Linked DNA regions of Homo sapiens: regions 1 and 3 are each linked to region 2. Evidence: promoter capture Hi-C in 16 types of primary human blood cells and fetal thymus (Javierre and others, 2016). All regions are on one chromosome and are shown on one strand. The core of a region is centred on a gene start or on the middle of the fragment in contact, and the rest is flanking DNA. Distances in the headings are between cores, read along the strand shown. Region 1 overlaps LOC105371574 (a long non-coding RNA gene). Region 2 holds the start of ALDH3A1 (aldehyde dehydrogenase 3 family member A1). Region 3 has its middle 16 kb from the start of LINC02094.

Region 1 (2,700 bases), core at 198-2,697, 290 kb before region 2:
AATAAAAAATCTCAGGACCACTCAACTCCTTCTGCCAAAGGGAAAGTTAAGCCTGGAGGCTGAGTCACTGGCAACACCCTCTTCCAAATGAATTGCTGTTACTTCACAACCTTGTGTCAAAGCATTAGGCATTAGCTAGACCCCCATGGAAGGGCCTCAGGCATCTCCAGATGACAACCCCCACAAAGCACTCATAAGTAAACTCTTATGTCAATTGACTTGACTTACTGTCAATCAAGGAAAATAACCCAGGCAAGTCTCAATCATTTTGGGAGGCCTATTTGCCAAAGTTAAGGATGCACTCCCAGAGACAGGTCTATGCCTTTCTCTGAAGATAATTTTGGTGGCTTCAATATTTAAAGGGGAATGGGCGGAATATTGAGAAATACACAACTTTCATGTGAGAGCGGGGTAGGGAAAAACAGTCATTCATGCCTTTGCCTGGCTCAGTGAATCTGAATTTTTACATGAGATGCCATAGACCATAGGGCAGAGGAAACAGTAAGATATGCATTTGTCTCACATGGGCAGAAGCATGAATCTGAGCTCTGTCGTATGTCCCAGCACCTGTGAAGATAAGCTATCAATTTACATTGCCATGGTGAACTGCAAGAGAAACATTTTAGAGTAAAGATCTTGAGGCCCATAAGGATCTTTACCCTAAAATGTGAGGGAGGTATGTAGCTTTTCATCTTTGCAGCCATCTTATTTGTGACCCAAAATGGGAGGCAGGTTTGCATGCGCTGGTTCCCAGCTTGACTTTTCCCTCTGGCTGAGTGAGTTTGGGAGTCTCAATATTTATTTTCCTTTCACACACCTTTCAAGATGTCTTTCTTCCCATAAATAAGGACTTGAGATGTGCAATCCAAGTCCAGCTCCTAAAACTAAAGTCTGTTGTTGCATTCCACGCTGACAATGTCCATTACAAGCTTATCTTCCGAGGGGCAGAACAAAGTCGGCATGAGATCAACCATTCCTTCCCCTACCAAGAGACATCAGCATAATTGAGACCTCCTTTACTCCCCTCTTCCTTCAAACATTCACCTTATCTGATGTAAAATGTAGGTTTACTGGACACTAACTAAAGTCTCACAAGAATGTAACATTTGCCTTGCCACCTACCTGCCCCTTTTCCTACATGCATTCCCCCACTTTAAGGAAATTTATATGTACAGAAGCTCCTGAAAACTTCTCCACAAAAAAACAGCCACAGGTGCGTCTCTGGCTTGAGTTTTTCCTCAGATGTGCCCTCAAGCTCTAGCTTACTAAACCTCAAATCATTGAGCCTTGCCTCAGTCACTCATTTAGGGTACCATTTATAAACATGTGTGATGAGGCCCCCAAGTACTCCCATTTTTGCTGGAGTGAGAACCTTCCCTCTCTCCTCACAGTGATGCTGTAGCTGCCTGATGGGTTCTTCCTGGCCACTGCACAAAGGAGACCAATGCATTGCAGTAAAGAAAGAGTTGAACAGATGTAAGGCTGCTCACGCCATGTGGGAGACAAAAATTATTACTCAAATCAATCTCCTTGGGCTGGACATGGTGGCTCACACCTGTAATCCCAGCACTTTGGGAGGCCAAGGCAGGCAGATCACTTGAGTGCAGGTCAGGAGTTCGAGAACAGCCTGTCCAACATGGTGAAACCCCGCCTCTGTTTTAAAAATACAAAAATTACCTGGGTGTGGTGGTGGGTGCCTGTAATCCCAGCTACTCGGGAGGCTGAAGGATGAGAATTGCTTGAACCCAGGAGGTGGAGGTTGCAGTGAGCTGAGATGGTGCCACTGCACTCCAGCCTGGCTGACAGAGAGAGACTCTGTCTCAAAAAACAAAAACAAACAAACAAACAGAAGATCAATCTCCTTGAAGGCTCATAGGGTAGGGGTTTTTCAAAAGTAGTTTGGTGGGCAGGGGGCTAGGGTATGGGAAGTGCTGATTGGTTGGTTCAGAGATGAAATCAGGGGATTGAAGCTTCCTCTTGCACTGAATCATTTCTGGGTGGGGCCACAGGAGCAGTTGGCAGATCCTGGTGGGTCCAGGTGGAGCCATTGGTGTCAGACATGCAAAAATCCTGAAAAGATATCTCAAAAGGCCAATCTTAGATTCTACAATAGTGATGTTATCTGCAGGAGTAAGTGGGGAAATTGCATGTCTTGTGAGCTCTGGAATAATGGTAGTGATTGTTTATGTGTACTCCTTGGCAGAATCCAGGCTTCTCTTCCTCCTAGCCTGGTGGTCACTCACTAGCTTTACAAAGGCAATTGAGTTTTGGGAAAGGGCTATTAAAATTTAAACTATAAACTAAATGTCTCTCAAAGTTAGCTTGGCCGAAGCCCAGGAATAATTAAAGGCAGCTTGAAGGCTAAAGGCAAGAGTGGGGTTGGCTAGATCAGATCTCCCCCTCTGCCATAATTTTCTCACTGTTACAATTTTTGCAAAGCCAGTTTCAATGTGACTGGAGGGAGGAGAGGGTCCTTGTTCTCAGGAAAACAAAATCAGTCTGTGGAGGGAGATCTGTCCTCCCCTGTGGCTACTCAGTGATTATAGCGCTGCACAGTTGACCCTCGAACAACACAGGTTTGAACGGCATGAGTCCACTTACACGCAGCTCTTTTTCAACCGAATGAGGATGAAAAATACAGTATTCATGGGATGCAAAGCCCACATTTACAGAGTGTTGACTTTTCCTGCAAGGAGGTTT
Region 2 (2,700 bases), core at 89-2,588:
GAAAAAAGTCTGCCTCCCTCCTCCCTGCTCCATCAGCTGTCAGGTGCTGCCCCACAGAGGGGCCACTGTTACCAGTTCCTTACTCCCCTTCCTGAGATACTCAGCCCACTTGCAGACCCGGCATAACTTTTAACATCAGCAGAAATAGGGTATTTCCATTTTTTTAAAAAACCCTATATATCATATGTAATATATAATTATATTGTATATAGATATATGGTCCTGCCTACATTCCAGCGAGTGGCTTCCAATCCTTCCTCTGCCTCCCCTCCCCATAGGCTGACCCCTAATCCCAGGCTTTCTGCACAGGGAGGAGGGACCTGCTGGCATTGAGGGTGCTCTAAGCCTGGCCCTTCCATGGTCCCTCCCTATGTTCTGATAGGAGGCTGGGAAAGCCCCCTCACTGGGACCTCCTCAGTCCCATGGGCCAGGCCCCTCCTGCTGACCACAACCCAGGAGAGAAGGTCCCGCTTCTCTCCCGAGCCTTGTACGGTCAAACCAAGGCAGGCAGCCCAGGTGGGAAGAGCCTGGTGAGCGTGGGACGGGATTGGCCTTGCACCCCAGCATCGCCACTTGGAACTGTGGTCTCTGGGCTGGACGGCCTTCCCAGGACTTCCCCGAGAGACAGGTTAACAAAGGTGCCACTTCACAGAGATGAGTGGACACCATCACGTCGCAGCTGCACCCAAATGGGAGCTGCTGCAGCATGCACTGGGGGCCTCCCCAGAGCCCGTCGCCTCACACCCCACATTCCTGCACCCCGCTCCTCTCACCTGTGCCAGTGTTGACTTTGCCCCCCAGTGACACCTCCTCCCCTCCTCATTGCCTTCCATCCTCACAAAAGCTCTGTAGTGATGCCCATGAAGAAGAAACGGTTATGAGTGCATTTTACAGATGAGGAAAGGGAGACTGAGAAACGTTTAATGCTGTATCTGATCTCACAGTTAGCAGGTGGCATGTCAGGGTTTGAACCCACATGCATCTCTGTCAGCAGCTCATGCCTTTAGCACTCGGCTCTGCTGCCTTCCTTCCAGTCATGGAGTCTGACGGCCCATCAGGGCCTCTCACTCCACGGCCACCTTGGTGTCCCTGCTCCGCGGATCCCTGGGACCTCTGCCTCCTGGTTTGGGGGATGGCAGAGCTGCCAGAGGTCCAGGAGGATGCTCCAGAGATGATGGTCCCAGAGGCAGGGACCCCCTGGAGAGATGATGTAGGACTCTTGACACTTAGGGCCCCGGCTCTGAGTGCAGACTCCACCTAGACAAGAGAAAAAATAAGGAATGCAGGGAAGAGGATTACCTTTGACACAGCCTCTCCCGGTAACTGGGGCTCCTGGAACGGCAAGAGCCAAGAGGGGACGTATTTAAGGACCCTGCTTCCCGTCCATTGAGCCCTTGGAGTTCCTGCCCAGGAAGTTTGCGTGACAAGAAAAAAAAATATTCAAATGTGGGGTGTGGCGTCCTCTGGACCTCTGCTCCCTACAGCCCAGGTTTTGGGGATTAGGTCCCGGGCTGTTTGCTTTTGTTCACTTCTGAAATGCGAGAATGTTTCTGAAGGCTTGGGCAGGGCACATCTCCAATCTTCAAAAGAGCCTATGTTTGCCCTGGGCGTGGGGGCTGCTGATTGATTCAGCCTGGCATGGAGCTCTTCCAGCTTTCCAGACTTGCCGCTGCCAGATGCGGTTCTCTGAGTTCTCTGGTTACATAAGATCGGCAGGGCTCAGCCACGAACCACAGTGAGAGCATGCAGCTCCCCCGAAACGCACCCCCAGCCACCGCTGCCCCGGGCCCTTCACATCCCCCAGTGTGCACAGGGCCCCATTGAGTCAGAGATCCTAACCCTGGGGAGCCACAGGCTGGGGACTTTTGATGGGGGTCTCCAATCCATAAATCTGCTCTCTCGTTGAATAGCTGAGAAGAGGGCCAAGGGTCTGTGTGGTCACCGAAAACCAGAGATGCTTGGGAAGGAAGGAGTCTGGAAAAGCCGTTCCCACGCTGTCTGATCAATGTTCGCTGGGCTCCTGCTCTGCACCACGCTGTGGGGAGGAGGCAGGTGTGGAACAGACTCTCGGCCCCTCTCACCAGGCGCTTCCCGCCACCCTCACCCGCCTGCAGGCAGACTGCTTACCAGCATGGGGTCCCTGCTTCCCATTTCATTCGAGGAAAACACAAGGTTCCGGTCCTGGCCTACGAGTCCTGAGGATGTGCTCTGGCCCTCCTGCTTCTCTCCACCTGGAGCCCCCTTCCCCTACATCCACCCACACGGCTACGCTCCAATGTGCTGTGGAAAATAGCACAATGCTGTCGTCTTCCTCCATTATTTTTTCTCTGGAGCGTTTATATCTTGTTTGCTACCTGTCCCTTAACTCCTGACAGCTAGAATTTGATTTGTTCACTGCTGTAACCTCCATACAGCATTTATAGTAGATGCTCAATAAATATTTATTGACTGACAAAATAAACAGGAAATTTCAAAATAATGTGAACACTGTAGTAACCAGGTAGGCAGAGGATGCTAGAGGGGCTGGGGTGAGAGTCCGTGGGAGGGAACATCATCTGAGCTGAGTGAGAAGCATTTGGGCAAGGAACAGCAAGGGGGCTGGAAGAGCAGAAGCAAAGGCACAGAGGCTGGGAACGTTATGTCACGAAAAAGTGCGATGTGTCCACTGTTGCCAGCAGGAGGTGTGGAGGTGAATGACTC
Region 3 (2,700 bases), core at 49-2,548, 310 kb before region 2:
CTTCCTAGGTTACAGCTGCCAGTTTATGTGACTCAGGTCCCATAATCACATTCCCTTAAGGCTCAAAATATTTTAAGGTTCCAAAAGCTTAGATTTTGAATTACTTATTTTCACACCCTATATATGTTAACCACGTATTTGCTTTATCTTATGTACAACGTCACTGAGCACCAATCAGAATTGTAGGAATGTCACCTTTGCTTCTCCATTTCCATGTAACAGAATGTATAAATACTATCTCGTGTAGCCCACTTGGGGAGACATTTTTGGTTTGTTCTGAGTCTGTATTTCCCAGAGAATTAGTCCTCAAACTTCACTCGGGATAAAACTAACTTTAAATTTCTTTAAGTTATAGTGCCTGTTATGTAACCTTTCTGTCAATAGTATCCTGCTCACAGCACCAAAACTTAGGGGGCAAGGGAAAATTCTGCTGAAAAATCAACTCACAATAGGTAAATTAATAGGAGAAATGACATAGAAATGTACTAATATCCACAGAAGGAAAATCGCAGTGATTACCCCCACTCCCCAGTGGGGTTCTGAAGCTTATGTACTATCTTGAGGTTACATTAACAATGGGGGCTCACAGCAGGGCCAAAACCAGATTACAGTGTTAGATCAGTTTATGGCGGCAACAGAGGTTATGGAGGGGAAGAAGAGGAGGGCTGGCTAGCAAAGGGGGTCTTGTTATGTAGATGAAGCCTCACAGGTAGCGGCCCTCGAGAGAGAATAGGTGGTGAATGTTTCTGTTAGACTTTAAAGGTGTCAGACTCTCGCTTAATCTTTCCCAGATCTGGATGAGGGAAGGCCTCAGAGACAGCCTGGCTTCATCAGTGCAGATTTCTCTACAGATGCAAATCTCCCCCACAAAAGGCAGCTTTTTAGTTATTTTTGTATTTCCAACCCTTCTGAATATCTGCCTTGAGCTATGTCGAGAAAATATATTTTATGGTAAAATCATTTGATTTCCTTCAGATGCTTTGATATTGTGATTTTGATTTTTGTTCCTGGTTCCTGGCATACCAGCTCCTAAACTCTTGGGATGTCTGGAGTGATAAGTGTCTTTTTGTATGCTAGTGAGATGATTAGTGGCTGGGGGTTCCCAGATAGCCTTAGGATGGGGCTGGTTGACACGGAAACCAACCATACAATTAGAGGTTTGGCACTTTCAGCCCCACCTTCTAACACTGGAGAGTAGAGAGGGCCTGAAGCTTGAGTTGATTACCAATGGCCAATGATTGATCAATCATGCCTACATAATGAGCCTCCAGAACATTCCAAAAAGATGGGGTTCAGAGAGCTTCTGAATTGCTGAATAGATGGAGCTGTCTGTAGGGTGGCATGCTTACAGGATGCCATGGGGGTGTGCTGCAGGACAGGACATGGAAGCTTATTGCCCCTTACCTTCCATACCTTGCCCTATGGATCACTTCTGCCTGGCTATTCATCTACATCCTCTGTAATATTCCTTACTAATATAATAAGCTGGTAAACATAAGTAAATGTTTCCTTGAGTTCTGTGAACTTCCTAACAAATTAGAACGGGGTTGTGGGAACCCCAATTTATAGCTGCTCAGTTAGATGCATAGGTGACAACCTGCTACTTGCAATTGGTGTCTGAAAATAGGCCAGTCTTGTGAAAATAGAACTAAGCCTTAACCTGTGGGATCTGACACTATGCCCAGGTAGAGTGTCAGAATTGAATTGAATGGGAGGACTCCCACTTGGTATCCACTGTAGAACTGCTTAGTGTGTGAGGACAAGCCCACAGACATCTGGTGTCAGAAGTGAAGTGTTGTGTTGAGTGGTGTGAGTAGGAAAAGCAGTTTGTTTTTTTCATCTCTCTTATTAAGACCCAAAGTAAGGGCTTGAGCCCCTATAATAAGTGTAGCAGCTCCTGCCATAGCTCGAAGGCATCCAGGTACCCAGAAGAACTGAGAAGTATGCTACTGGTCTATCGTCTAATACCAACTTTTGAATTAAATTCTACTGTGGCAGGCCAGGTCTCACTAACAGCTGAACAGGCAGGCCTCCATGCCAACTGCTTCGGCACTGAGTGGTTAGGTTAAATATTAAAAGCTGAAAGACCCAGGGCCCCTATACAAAGGCTGGAATATAACAGAAGCCCACCAAGAGTCTTGCTTAGGCCTTTTCTGGGCCTTGAAGCATGACAGGATAATGAAGGAATTCTTAACAGGACCTGTTTAGAATTAAACAAGTTTTATTTTTTATTTTTTAAATGGAGTCTCACTGTGTTGCCCAGGCTGGAGTGCAGTGGCACAATCTCAGCTCACTGCACCTCCGCCTCCTGGGTTCAAGCGATTCTCTTGCCTCAGCTTCCTGAGTAGCTGGGACTGTAGGCATGTGCCACCACGCCCAGCTAATTTTTGTATTTTTGGTAGAGACGGGGTTTCACTATATTGGCCAGGCTGGTCACAAACTCCTGACCTCAGATGATCCACCCACCTCCGCCTCCCAAAGTACCGGGCATACAATAGGTGTAAGCTGCCATGCCCGGCCAAGATTAAACAAGTTGGGTTTTTTGTTTTGTTTTTGTTATTTTTGAGACAGAATTTTGCTCTTGTTACCCAGGCTGGAGTGCAATGGCACGATCTCGGCTCACTGCAACCTCCACTTCCCGAGTTCAAGAGATTCTCCTGCCTCAGCCTCCCAAGTAGCTGGGATTACAGGCGCCGGCCA

The links. The method cuts DNA at HindIII sites, captures the fragments that hold promoters and counts their contacts. A CHiCAGO score of 5 or more calls a contact.
Region 1: a contact is called between a fragment that was not itself captured here and the fragment with the promoter of ALDH3A1 in region 2, in 1 of 17 cell types (M2 macrophages). The highest score is 5.8, in M2 macrophages.
Region 3: a fragment that was not itself captured here is called in contact with the fragment with the promoter of ALDH3A1 in region 2 in 3 of 17 cell types (naive CD8 T cells, naive CD4 T cells and naive B cells); the score reaches 5.5 in naive CD8 T cells.

The regions. Positions count from the first base shown.
Region 1 is chr17:19,454,191-19,456,890 of GRCh38, forward strand. All of the region lies in intron 1 of LOC105371574 (a long non-coding RNA gene), which reads right to left. Among named protein-coding and RNA genes, the nearest start is that of LINC02094, 37 kb to the left of the region's middle. The HindIII fragment of the contact is 1,041 bases long and covers 928-1,968 here.
Region 2 is chr17:19,746,960-19,749,659 of GRCh38, forward strand. It overlaps ALDH3A1 (aldehyde dehydrogenase 3 family member A1), which reads right to left and starts at 1,339. Exons shown (of 11, transcript NM_000691.5): 1 at 1,300-1,339. The HindIII fragment of the contact is 17,326 bases long and covers 1-2,700 here.
Region 3 is chr17:19,432,780-19,435,479 of GRCh38, forward strand. No RefSeq gene overlaps it. Among named protein-coding and RNA genes, the nearest start is that of LINC02094, 16 kb to the left of the region's middle. RefSeq lists an enhancer at 418-956. The HindIII fragment of the contact is 178 bases long and covers 1,210-1,387 here.